2 separate regions of the Homo sapiens genome follow, and region 2 is linked to region 1. The links are contacts of gene promoters, found by promoter capture Hi-C in blood cells and fetal thymus (Javierre and others, 2016). All regions are on one chromosome and are shown on one strand. Each heading gives the region's core, a stretch centred on a gene start or on the middle of the fragment in contact. The rest is flanking DNA. Distances are from core to core; before and after follow the strand shown.

Region 1 (4,580 bases), core at 725-3,224:
TAAATGCCAGTAAGGACCACATTCCTGCTGCTGAAAACCCTGAAGCTACATTTGAGCCTTCTGTAGTTACGTTACTTATCTTTTAATTCCTTTTCTTTTCTTTCCTTTTTTTTTTTTTTTTTTTTTTTAAGAGATGAGGTCTCATTATGTTGCCCAGGCTGGTCTCAAACTCCTGGGATCAAGCAATCCTCCCACCTTGGCCTCTCCAAGTGCTGAGATTACAGGCGTGAGCCACCACGCCTGGATGTTATTTATCTTTTAACTAACTTGGTTCTCCTGCTTCAGTTATGTTCTGGTGAAATTCTGTCTTCTTAATTCCATGACCTACACATCACACTCCCCCAGCACTCCATTTAACGTGGCTTAGCCCAAAGAAGTTGGAAAATTGTGTGTGAGAGAATGTAAGATTCAAGCATCCATGAGCGTGGGAGTTGCTAGACAAAAACTAAGGTCCTTTCCAGCCCCAAAAGGCCACGATTCTAACCTATGAACCTACTCAATATTTCCTTCAAGGTAACACAAATCCCTAAAATTTACCACCACCAAGCAGTAGTTCCTTTTATGGTCCTAAATAAGATCCTTTATCCAGGAATGCCCTAGGTTCCTATATTCTGAGATTTCACAAACATCCTCATTTTAGCTTCTGACTACCAATTTCAATGGTAACTTTTCTTAAGCCTTATTTTCAGAAAGTAGAGTCCTTCTATTTTTAGTATCTTGCAACGCCCAAGCCCCCGTGCACTTCTAACCCACTACAGATACTGTACTGCAACATTTTCTCCGTGCATAAACGCCTACCTTTCTTTTTTTAAAGGCTAGTATATTGTTCCATTATACAAACGTACCGTAATTAATATTTCACCAGCTCTTACTAATGGACTTCCGGTCGTTTCCAATTATATTATAAATATTACATACAATGCTCAGGTCAACAACTTTTTACATGTGTATCTTTAGCGTATGCAAGAGCAACTAAATTACCACTGGGTCATTTCAAGTTGCTCCTCTTTGAACTGTTTTGAGCTTAGATCTATCTCTGAACAGGAACAAAAACTAGAAAGCACCCAAAACTCTGGTTGCAGATGCAGAAATACAGTGTGGCACAATGCTAATGGGGGAAATGGTCTCTTCTTTGACGGATCGCCTATTAGCTTGAGACTAGATCTTAAAGGGTTCCCAAAGCAAGAAAATACACTGTAATTATCGAAGAATTTTAGATACCTCAGAGATGAGGTTAAGAAATAGTAAAAGCTTAACAGTCGAAGATCTGAAGCTTCAATTTCATTCTTTGATGTTCCCGATTACAGAAAGTTCAAAGATGATGTTTAAAAATATTATATATGCCCAAATGCTTAAAAAAAAAAAAGGAAGCATGATAAACGTCATCGCCCAGCCTTCTTAAAGATCGCTCCCACCCGCGGCTAGCCGGGCAGGAGAAGAGACTCGAGCGGCACCCGAGCCGCATCCACGCCGCCCGCCCGCCCCTGGGGTCTGGGTAGGTAACGGGCCCGGCGGGAAGGAGGGGCTCCCAGGCCGTCCCTCCCAGCGCTCACCTCAGCTCCTCGTCGACATTCCCGCGGGGCTGTTCGGCCGACGCCACCATAGAGGAAGTCGTAGAGGTCTTGTTCTTCAAGATCCCCTTGATGGGCCGGTGCGAGGCCGTCGAGGCCGCCATTGCCGGGCGCTCCGGCTGTCGGCTCAGGGTCGCTGCTTGGCGTGGGGTCCGCGAAGAGAAGGGTCGGCACAGCAGAGACTCGCAGGCAGCCGCAGATCCCGCTCAGGGCTAAAGCGGCCGCAACTGCTGCCTCGGAAACGGCTACCGCAGCGGTTGTCACGACACAACGACCCCGACGCCAGAGCCAACGCCGAACGGGTGGCGGCTACTCGCGCACCCTTAGCCACTGGCACTTGACCCGCGGCTCGCGGAGAGACGCCGGCCTAGAGCTCCAGCGCAGGAGCGACGCGACGCCGAAGCCAAGCGGACCCGCCCTCTCGCGATATCTAGGGAGGAGGCGGGGAGAGGGCGGGGCGAGAACAAAGCCGACCTCCTCGCCCCGCCCCCTCCGTCCCGCCCGGGCTGCTCGCCCCGCCCCCGCGCGGCGCTGGGAGGCGGGAGCTGTCTCTGAGAACCTGCGGGAGAGCGCCCGGGCTTGCTGCTTCCCGGACCCGCGCGTCTCTCGAGCACCCTCGTCCCACCACCTTGTGAGGCCGTAGTGTTATTTTTATTTTTTAGATCAGCAGACTGAGACTCGAGGTGACGTCACTCCGCAGAGAGGTTAGCTGACTTGAAGAAAACGGGTATCTCCTCTTTCCATTTCGCCCGTGTAAACAGCCGAACTGCCTATTATAAAAGCATGGACTGCCAGCATTGGAGTGGTCCTTAGAGGCCTATTATGAAATCATAGAATGTCTGCATTGGAATCGCCTCACCTCCTTTTACCGCTGGAGAAGCCGACGGACAGACGGGCAGCGACCCCCGCCGTCGCACAACCCGTCTAGGCAGAGAGCGCAGGAGACGGGAGGGCGGCAGGGACACATCTCCCAGCCAAGGACCTCCTGGGCCCGCAGAGGCCGCGACAGGTTCCCCCCACAGAGGGAACCAACTCTGCCGCAGGTTGATGTGGACTTCAAGCCTGCAGAACGGAGAGCCCATTTCCATTGCTTAAAGCCACCTCGTGTGTGGTATTTGTTATGGTCCCTGTACACTCCCTTCCCTCCCTCTCCCAAGTCCAGTCCGCAGCTCGCTCATCACCAGGCTCTTTTCCATGACTCTTTCTTGATCAGGCCTTTTTATCGTCCTCACCACAGGTTAGAGCACAGCAGACTGAGCCACCCAGAACTGGCCCCTCCGGTGGACCAGCCCCTGCGGATTCACAGACCACTGGTCCTGGAAGGGACCTTGTCAAGCAGGCCCATAAGGTGGCTATTCAGCCTGTTTCTCCAACAACCCCAGGGGCTAGAAGCCCGCCACACCCCCGTGTAACTCATTTTGTTTTTGGACAGCTCTGACTCTGGGAGTTCTTAGATTGAGCTGACACCTCGCTCCCAGCAATGTCTGTCCACTGCTGTGGGGGGTGAGAGGAAGCGTTTTCCCCTATCTAGCCCCTATAGCAGCAGTTTCACTCCCATGGCTCATCTCTGGACCACAGTCTCATCTTCTTTAACACAGGCTCTGTGCCTTTTGAGGATGACCCTGTTCTGTGTCCTTAGGACTCTGCCCCTCAGGGATGACTGTAGGGTTCTGAAAACGATTGTTTTTATCGTCTGGCCCCGAGCCCCTAGCTCCTAGATGAGTTCCTGGCACAGAACAGGGCCTCAGTATGGGAATGGATGTGGATGGAGATAATGGAGGGGAAGTGAGCTGGAAGGGGAGAAGGGAAACAGGGTTGCTGGTCACAGAGTGGAATGTGTTCCCCAGGGATTTGCCTCAGCCAGGGGCCTGCACAGTCACTGTTGGCACTGTCCCCACCTTTGTTCCCAGTCAAATATCCACTGGTGCCGTCTCTCCCTCCCAGGCCAGGACTGCTCAGTGGATCTAACATTACACCCTGACAGCCCTGTCCAGCCCATGGAGCAGAGAGAGAGGGTTCTCAGCGAGGGGAAGCAGGATGGCCACCTCCCTTCCCTTCCTGAGTTCTTTCCACCCCAGTGTTCAACACCTGTGTTGCGTCTCCTGCCCTGTCAGCAGGAGTCTAGGTCAGTGATGGCAATCCTGTTTTCAAGGGAATACACAAACTTCCCTGTATGTTCCAAATTATTGGGCAGATTTGCTTTGTTCCTGCTTGGGCTGGGAAGCATCACTGAGTTCAGCATCCCTGAACTCAACTGTGACTGGGCCCTTGATTAAGCAACAGCTTGCTTTCAGACCCTCTAATGAAAGGGACTACGATCGTATGACATAAAGTGTTTTATTAGTTAATTAACTAACAAACATTGGAACAGGAGGTGATGAAGAGTTCTCTGAAGAACCTTGGAAACATATTTCCCTCATCAAGAGTTAAACTTTTGTCTCCTGTACTGGTTCTTCCACTCCCAAACCCACAACAAATGAATGCAGATGAAGATGACTTTGGTAGCACTTAAAAAAAAATAGTTTGTAAAATTGTGAGGGCCAGTACTGCTTTTTTTTTTTTTTTTTTTGAGACAAAGTCTTGCTCTGTCGCCCAGGCTGGAATGCAATGGCACAATCTCCACTCACTGCAACCTCTGCCTCCTGGGTTCAAGTGATTCTCCTGCCTCAGCCTCCCGAGTAGCTGGGACTACAGGTGCCTGCCACCACACCCAGCTAATTTTTGTATTTTTAGTAGAGATGGGGTTTCATCATGTTGGCCAGGCTTGTCTCAAACTTCTGACCTCAGGTGATCTGCCCGCCTCAGCCTCCCAAAGTGCTGGGATTATAGGCATGAGCCACCACACATGGCCTGCTTTTCCTTATCTTTCAGAATAGTTGAACTACTTTATTCCTCAGTGTGGCCCAAATAAGATTTTCAAATGCCTCTAAACAGAGCTCTCCTTCTGTGCCTCTGCTGAGGTTTGCTCCTGTAGGAAGTTATCTGGACCAAACAGCCCGAGCACTGAAT
Region 2 (4,580 bases), core at 780-3,279, 1.1 Mb before region 1:
AGTGATGTTGGAAATAAGAACTTTATACTTGTGAATGACAACAAAGTGGTTTATAATCTCGAAAATCTTGAAGACAGAAATAGGATTTCAAAATGAGCTCGATAATGTGGTTTATCCAAAGCGGATTCTGTGTGTTGTATATTTGGTGACCTAAACTAACTATGTAAGTATCAACCGCCAAGCTCGGTGGCTAGCGCCTGTAATACCAGCACTTTGGGAGGCCTAGGCAGGAAGATCACCTGAAGTCAGTAGTTCACGACCAGCCTGGCCAACGTGGTGAAACCCTGTCTCTACTAAAAATACAAAAAATTAGCTGGGCGTGGTGGCACACACCTGAAATCCCAGCTACTTAGGAGGCTGCGACAGGAGAATCGCTGAAACCCAGGAGGCAGAAGTTACAGTGAGCCGAGTTCACACCACTGCACTCCAGCCTGGGCAACAGAGCAAGATGCCATCTCAAAAAAAAAAAAAAAAATTTAAAGCAACCAAATAGTGTCACTTTTCCTACCCAATCCCCTGACCAAAGCCAGGCATTGTTGTTCTAACAAGGCTCAAAATCTCAATTATTTCACTCTCTGCCTGATCTAATGGTAGGATAATGCAAATCAAAGATACCAGCAAAAGTTATGTTCTACAACAATCATTAATAATAGGTTTACTACTTCGAACAACTTCCAAGCACTGATTTGCCTTAAAGGGGTTGCAAACCAGGATGAGATGCCCACACACATTGATTTTTGGCAACTGTAGTCTATTAAGCAAAGCAACAAACCTCTAGAGAAAATAATGTCACATATATTCCAGTGAAACAAAATTAATACATGTACCTTGGTAAAGAGGCTGAGCTCTAACCAAAGATAGAGCACTGTTCATTACGTACTCACCCTTCAAAGGAATCAAATCGAAACACTTTCATTTTAACAACGATACTTTTTAAAGGCTTTATTTTGCAATAATCTTTCAAGTCCCTGCATTTCTTAGATTCCTTAAATTCTAACTTCCTGCCTCATAGATCTAAAGTAGCCATGACATACCCAGGTATGTTCTACTCATTTAGTTAGAATCGTATAGAGGAACACAAGTCTGTTTCTAGGTGTACGACTCCACACCCATTCATTTTGCACTAATATAACCACTAAATATAGCTCTAAGACACTGATGATTAAAAGCGGCTAATTATGTGAGTGATTCATACCTCCTATGTCCAAACACCAAGATTCAGGGATGTCTGTCAGATCTATGGGAAGAGGAAACAATAAACACCTGTCACAAAGCTTCTTCCACACCGGGAAGCCCCCAGCTGAGTTCCTGCCAATCCCAACCCGATTCCCTCCCCCTTCATCCCTACCCCTCACCTCCCCAAAAAAGCCAGAGGTCATACTTCCACCAGAACCTGACTCTGTGAAGGGAATGGAGAGACAGAAAGGCCATAGCGAGAGTGGCCACGAGAGCACTGCTAGGGCAAAGGGCCCTGGGTTTTTCTAGTCCTCACTGCCACAGAGTCCGAGTGGGAGGCCTCAGGCAAGTCAGAAGTCACTTTTCCTCCACGGGACTCACTCCTTTTATCTGTGAAATGCGGAGATGGCAAGCAGCTCCATACTCCACGGCTGAGGACGAGCTAGGGTCCCGCACAGACTCATCGAGGGCCCTGCCAGCACCCCTACGCCTCTGCCCACAGGACCTCCACCTCCCACAGGACTTTCCGAAAGCTCTGACTACCAACCACCAAGCGCCCGGCCCCCACGCTCGCCCCCGGCAGGCGGCGCGTCCCCCCCAGGCCTTCGCACCCACCGCGTGGGCTCCTGCCCTGGCCTCACCTGCCCCCGACACTCCCCGTCCCCGCGATGCCCAACTCCGGCCCGAGAAGGCTGGCCGCGACCTCGCCCGGTACCCGCCGCCCCGACACCACCATTCGCCTCCTCGACCTCCCCCGGCGCCGCTGCCCACCCGCCCCTCGCCCCGCTCACCGGGGCCGCTCACTGGCCGCCGCCGCGCCGCCTCCTCCGCGGCCTCCCTCGCGGCCGGACCAGCCCCAGGGACCGCGGGGGACCCGGCCGCCGCTGTCGCCGCCGCCGCCTCGCCTCAGCCCAGCCCCATCGCCCTCGGCCGGCGCCGCGCGCTGCGGCTCAGGGTGAGGGAAGGAGGCGCCGCGGCGGGGCCGGGCCGGCCCTGGGACGTCCGCGCTCTCCTCCTCCTCCGCGCCCGCGGCGGCGGCGTGCAGCCGGCAGGGCGAGAACAAGGGAGGGCGGCGGGAGGTGGGCAGGGGAGGGGGGCGGTCTGCACTCCGAAACGGCCCCCCCGCCGCCAGCGACGTAGAGAACCCCCCTCCCCTCCGCGGCGGCGCCCGATCACGCTGCGGGGAGAGCCGGCAGGCAGGCGGGGGAGCGCGCGCGGGCTCAGGACTCCCGCGCCGGATGTGAGGTCACGTGGTGGCTTCATCCCCGCGCGGAGGGCGGAGGGGCGCGGGCGACGTCAGGAGGCGGGGAAGGGGCGGGGAGGGGCGGGGCGATTTATAGGCCCCGCCCACCCATCGCCTTTGCCACCCTCGAACGGGCAAAAGAAAGAAAGAGGCAGGTAAGGGGAGGCGAGGCCGTCCAAAAACGCTGGGTGTCAGCCCGGGGTGGCTAATGGAGGGCGGCTTTTCTGGTGGGATGAAATGGAACGGCAAATCCCACTTCATCCCCTTTGGGCTATGACAACATCATAGTCCAATCTCCCATTTTATGAACAGGGAAACTGAGGCTCAGTGACTAGACAGACGTTGCCCAGAGTCATGGTCATGGAGGAAGCTTGTGCTAGAATGGTGGAGAGGAAACCAGAGCCCAGCTCCTAATGCAAGGCTCTTTCATTCCTTTAGCCACCCTCGCCCCCGCCAAAACAAACAGACAAAAAACTGTCATTCTCATATGACCACGGACTCTGCGCCCCGGCCGCAGGCGGAGGACAGGGAGGAGCGCACACGAGAAAGCTCCCACGCGCCCGCGCCTCGCCTCCGACGGGAAGGCGCCTCTTCCGACCGTCCTGGATGCAAATTAAATACTTCCCTCCGCAGAAGACTTATCTCGGGGTAGGGCCGCAGCCGGATTTCCAAATCGCGGGTTTGATTTTCGCTGCGTCCTCTCCGCGACGCGCGCAGGGAGCGCGCCCGGCCACCTGCAGCCTCTGGCTGCGGCCATCTTTCCGCCTGGGGCCACCTGGCCTGCGCCCTTTGTGCCCGGCCCGCTCCGTGACTGTTCTTCTTGCCGCTACTTACAGAACTCAGCCGCCTTAGCGTCTTAGAGAAGAGGACGGCATGCATGCGGACCCCGTCCACCACACCTGGAGAGCAGGGAGCCCTTAGTCCCTGGACACTTACCAGGGCCGCCACCCCTGGTCCACGCACGTGATGACATCTCACCAGGGGCAGCACACCGCCCGAGTCCGCGACACTGATAACACCTCCTGCGGGCAGGAGGGCGCCACAGCCACCCCTGGTCCCCTAGATTGTGTGAGGCTAGCATTTCTGCCCGCCTCTTGGCGTGGACAGCACGCTGGACCGAGATGGAACCACAGCTTTCTCTTCCCAATCCCTGGCCTCACCGTTTTGTTTCATACCTCACCGTTTGTTTCAAACCTCGTGGTGTTGAAATGATTAAATGAGATTAAGGGGTGTGTGGTAGTGTTGGGCAAACCACAAGAAAACGGTCTGGGTGGGGTCTGGCCCTAAAATCTTCCTCCCCCACCTCCCAGGCTTCCTTGCCTTGCTGCTTCCTCTCAGCCTTTAAACAGGTTGGCCTCTCCAAGTCCTAAAAACAAAATTATCAAGCCAACCTCCTCCTGAAGTGCTCCCTCCAACTAGCTTCCAAGTGTTTCATGCGGACCTCAAACAATGGTCTTCCCTGGCTGCCTCTGCTTCCTCATTTCTCAACACTTGGCATTCTGGCTTCTCCTCCCCAACTCTAACCCTTCACCTTGCTCAGGCAAGAGCAACTCATGACTTTCATTTTGCCAAACCTTGCAGGCATTCCTCAGGCCTTATCTCTCTGGTTCTTTCTGCTACATTTGACACCTTGGGATGACTCTCACCTTCTGGAATCTCTCTACTACCTTGGTTTCAGAAGAGTGAACCCTCTGGATTATCACATGAAGGTAAGTAAAGCCTCTGCCTCCTTGGTAACATCTACTTGTGAATCTGCACCTTAAATTCAGGATTCCACTCTAAGCCAACAACTTTGCTCACTTCACTCATTCTTCTGGGATTGCCTGCATCCTCATGGATGCAGCTCCCAAATTAGCAATTTCCAACCCAGACCCCTTCCACAAAATTTAGAACCAAATATCCAATTGCCTGCCAGGCAGCTCTAGCTAGATATCACAGACACCCCAAACTGGACATTTCCAAAACTGAACTCATTCTCTGCTTTCATAGCTGCCCCTCCCTCAGCTGTTGGCACCACCATCTCCACAGTCATCAGAATTAGAAAGTTGGGAATGAGTGAGTCATTCTTAATTCAGCCCTCTGCCTTACCCAATCACCAAGTCCTATCTATTTCACCTCCTTAATAAGCCTCAAATTCCTATGGTGGGCTGGGCGCAGTGGC

What was found. The method cuts DNA at HindIII sites, captures the fragments that hold promoters and counts their contacts. A CHiCAGO score of 5 or more calls a contact.
Region 2: a contact is called between a fragment that was not itself captured here and the fragment with the promoter of PPP1R2 in region 1, in 2 of 17 cell types (fetal thymus and naive B cells). The highest score is 7.1, in fetal thymus.

Annotation. Positions count from the first base shown.
Region 1 is chr3:195,541,351-195,545,930 of GRCh38, forward strand. PPP1R2 (protein phosphatase 1 regulatory inhibitor subunit 2) reads right to left here and starts at 1,975. Exons shown (of 6, transcript NM_006241.8): 1 at 1,554-1,975. The coding sequence starts at 1,675. RefSeq lists a silencer at 1,947-2,186. The HindIII fragment of the contact is 8,075 bases long and covers 1,272-4,580 here.
Region 2 is chr3:194,484,599-194,489,178 of GRCh38, forward strand. ATP13A3 (ATPase 13A3) reads right to left here and starts at 2,404. Exons shown (of 34, transcript NM_001367549.1): 1 at 1,968-2,404; 2 at 1,196-1,237. ATP13A3-DT (ATP13A3 divergent transcript) reads left to right here and starts at 2,542. Exons shown (of 2, transcript NR_033929.1): 1 at 2,542-2,574; 2 at 2,858-3,947. RefSeq lists silencers at 1,644-1,703, 1,794-1,843, 1,874-2,533 and an enhancer at 3,204-3,423. The HindIII fragment of the contact is 1,515 bases long and covers 1,273-2,787 here.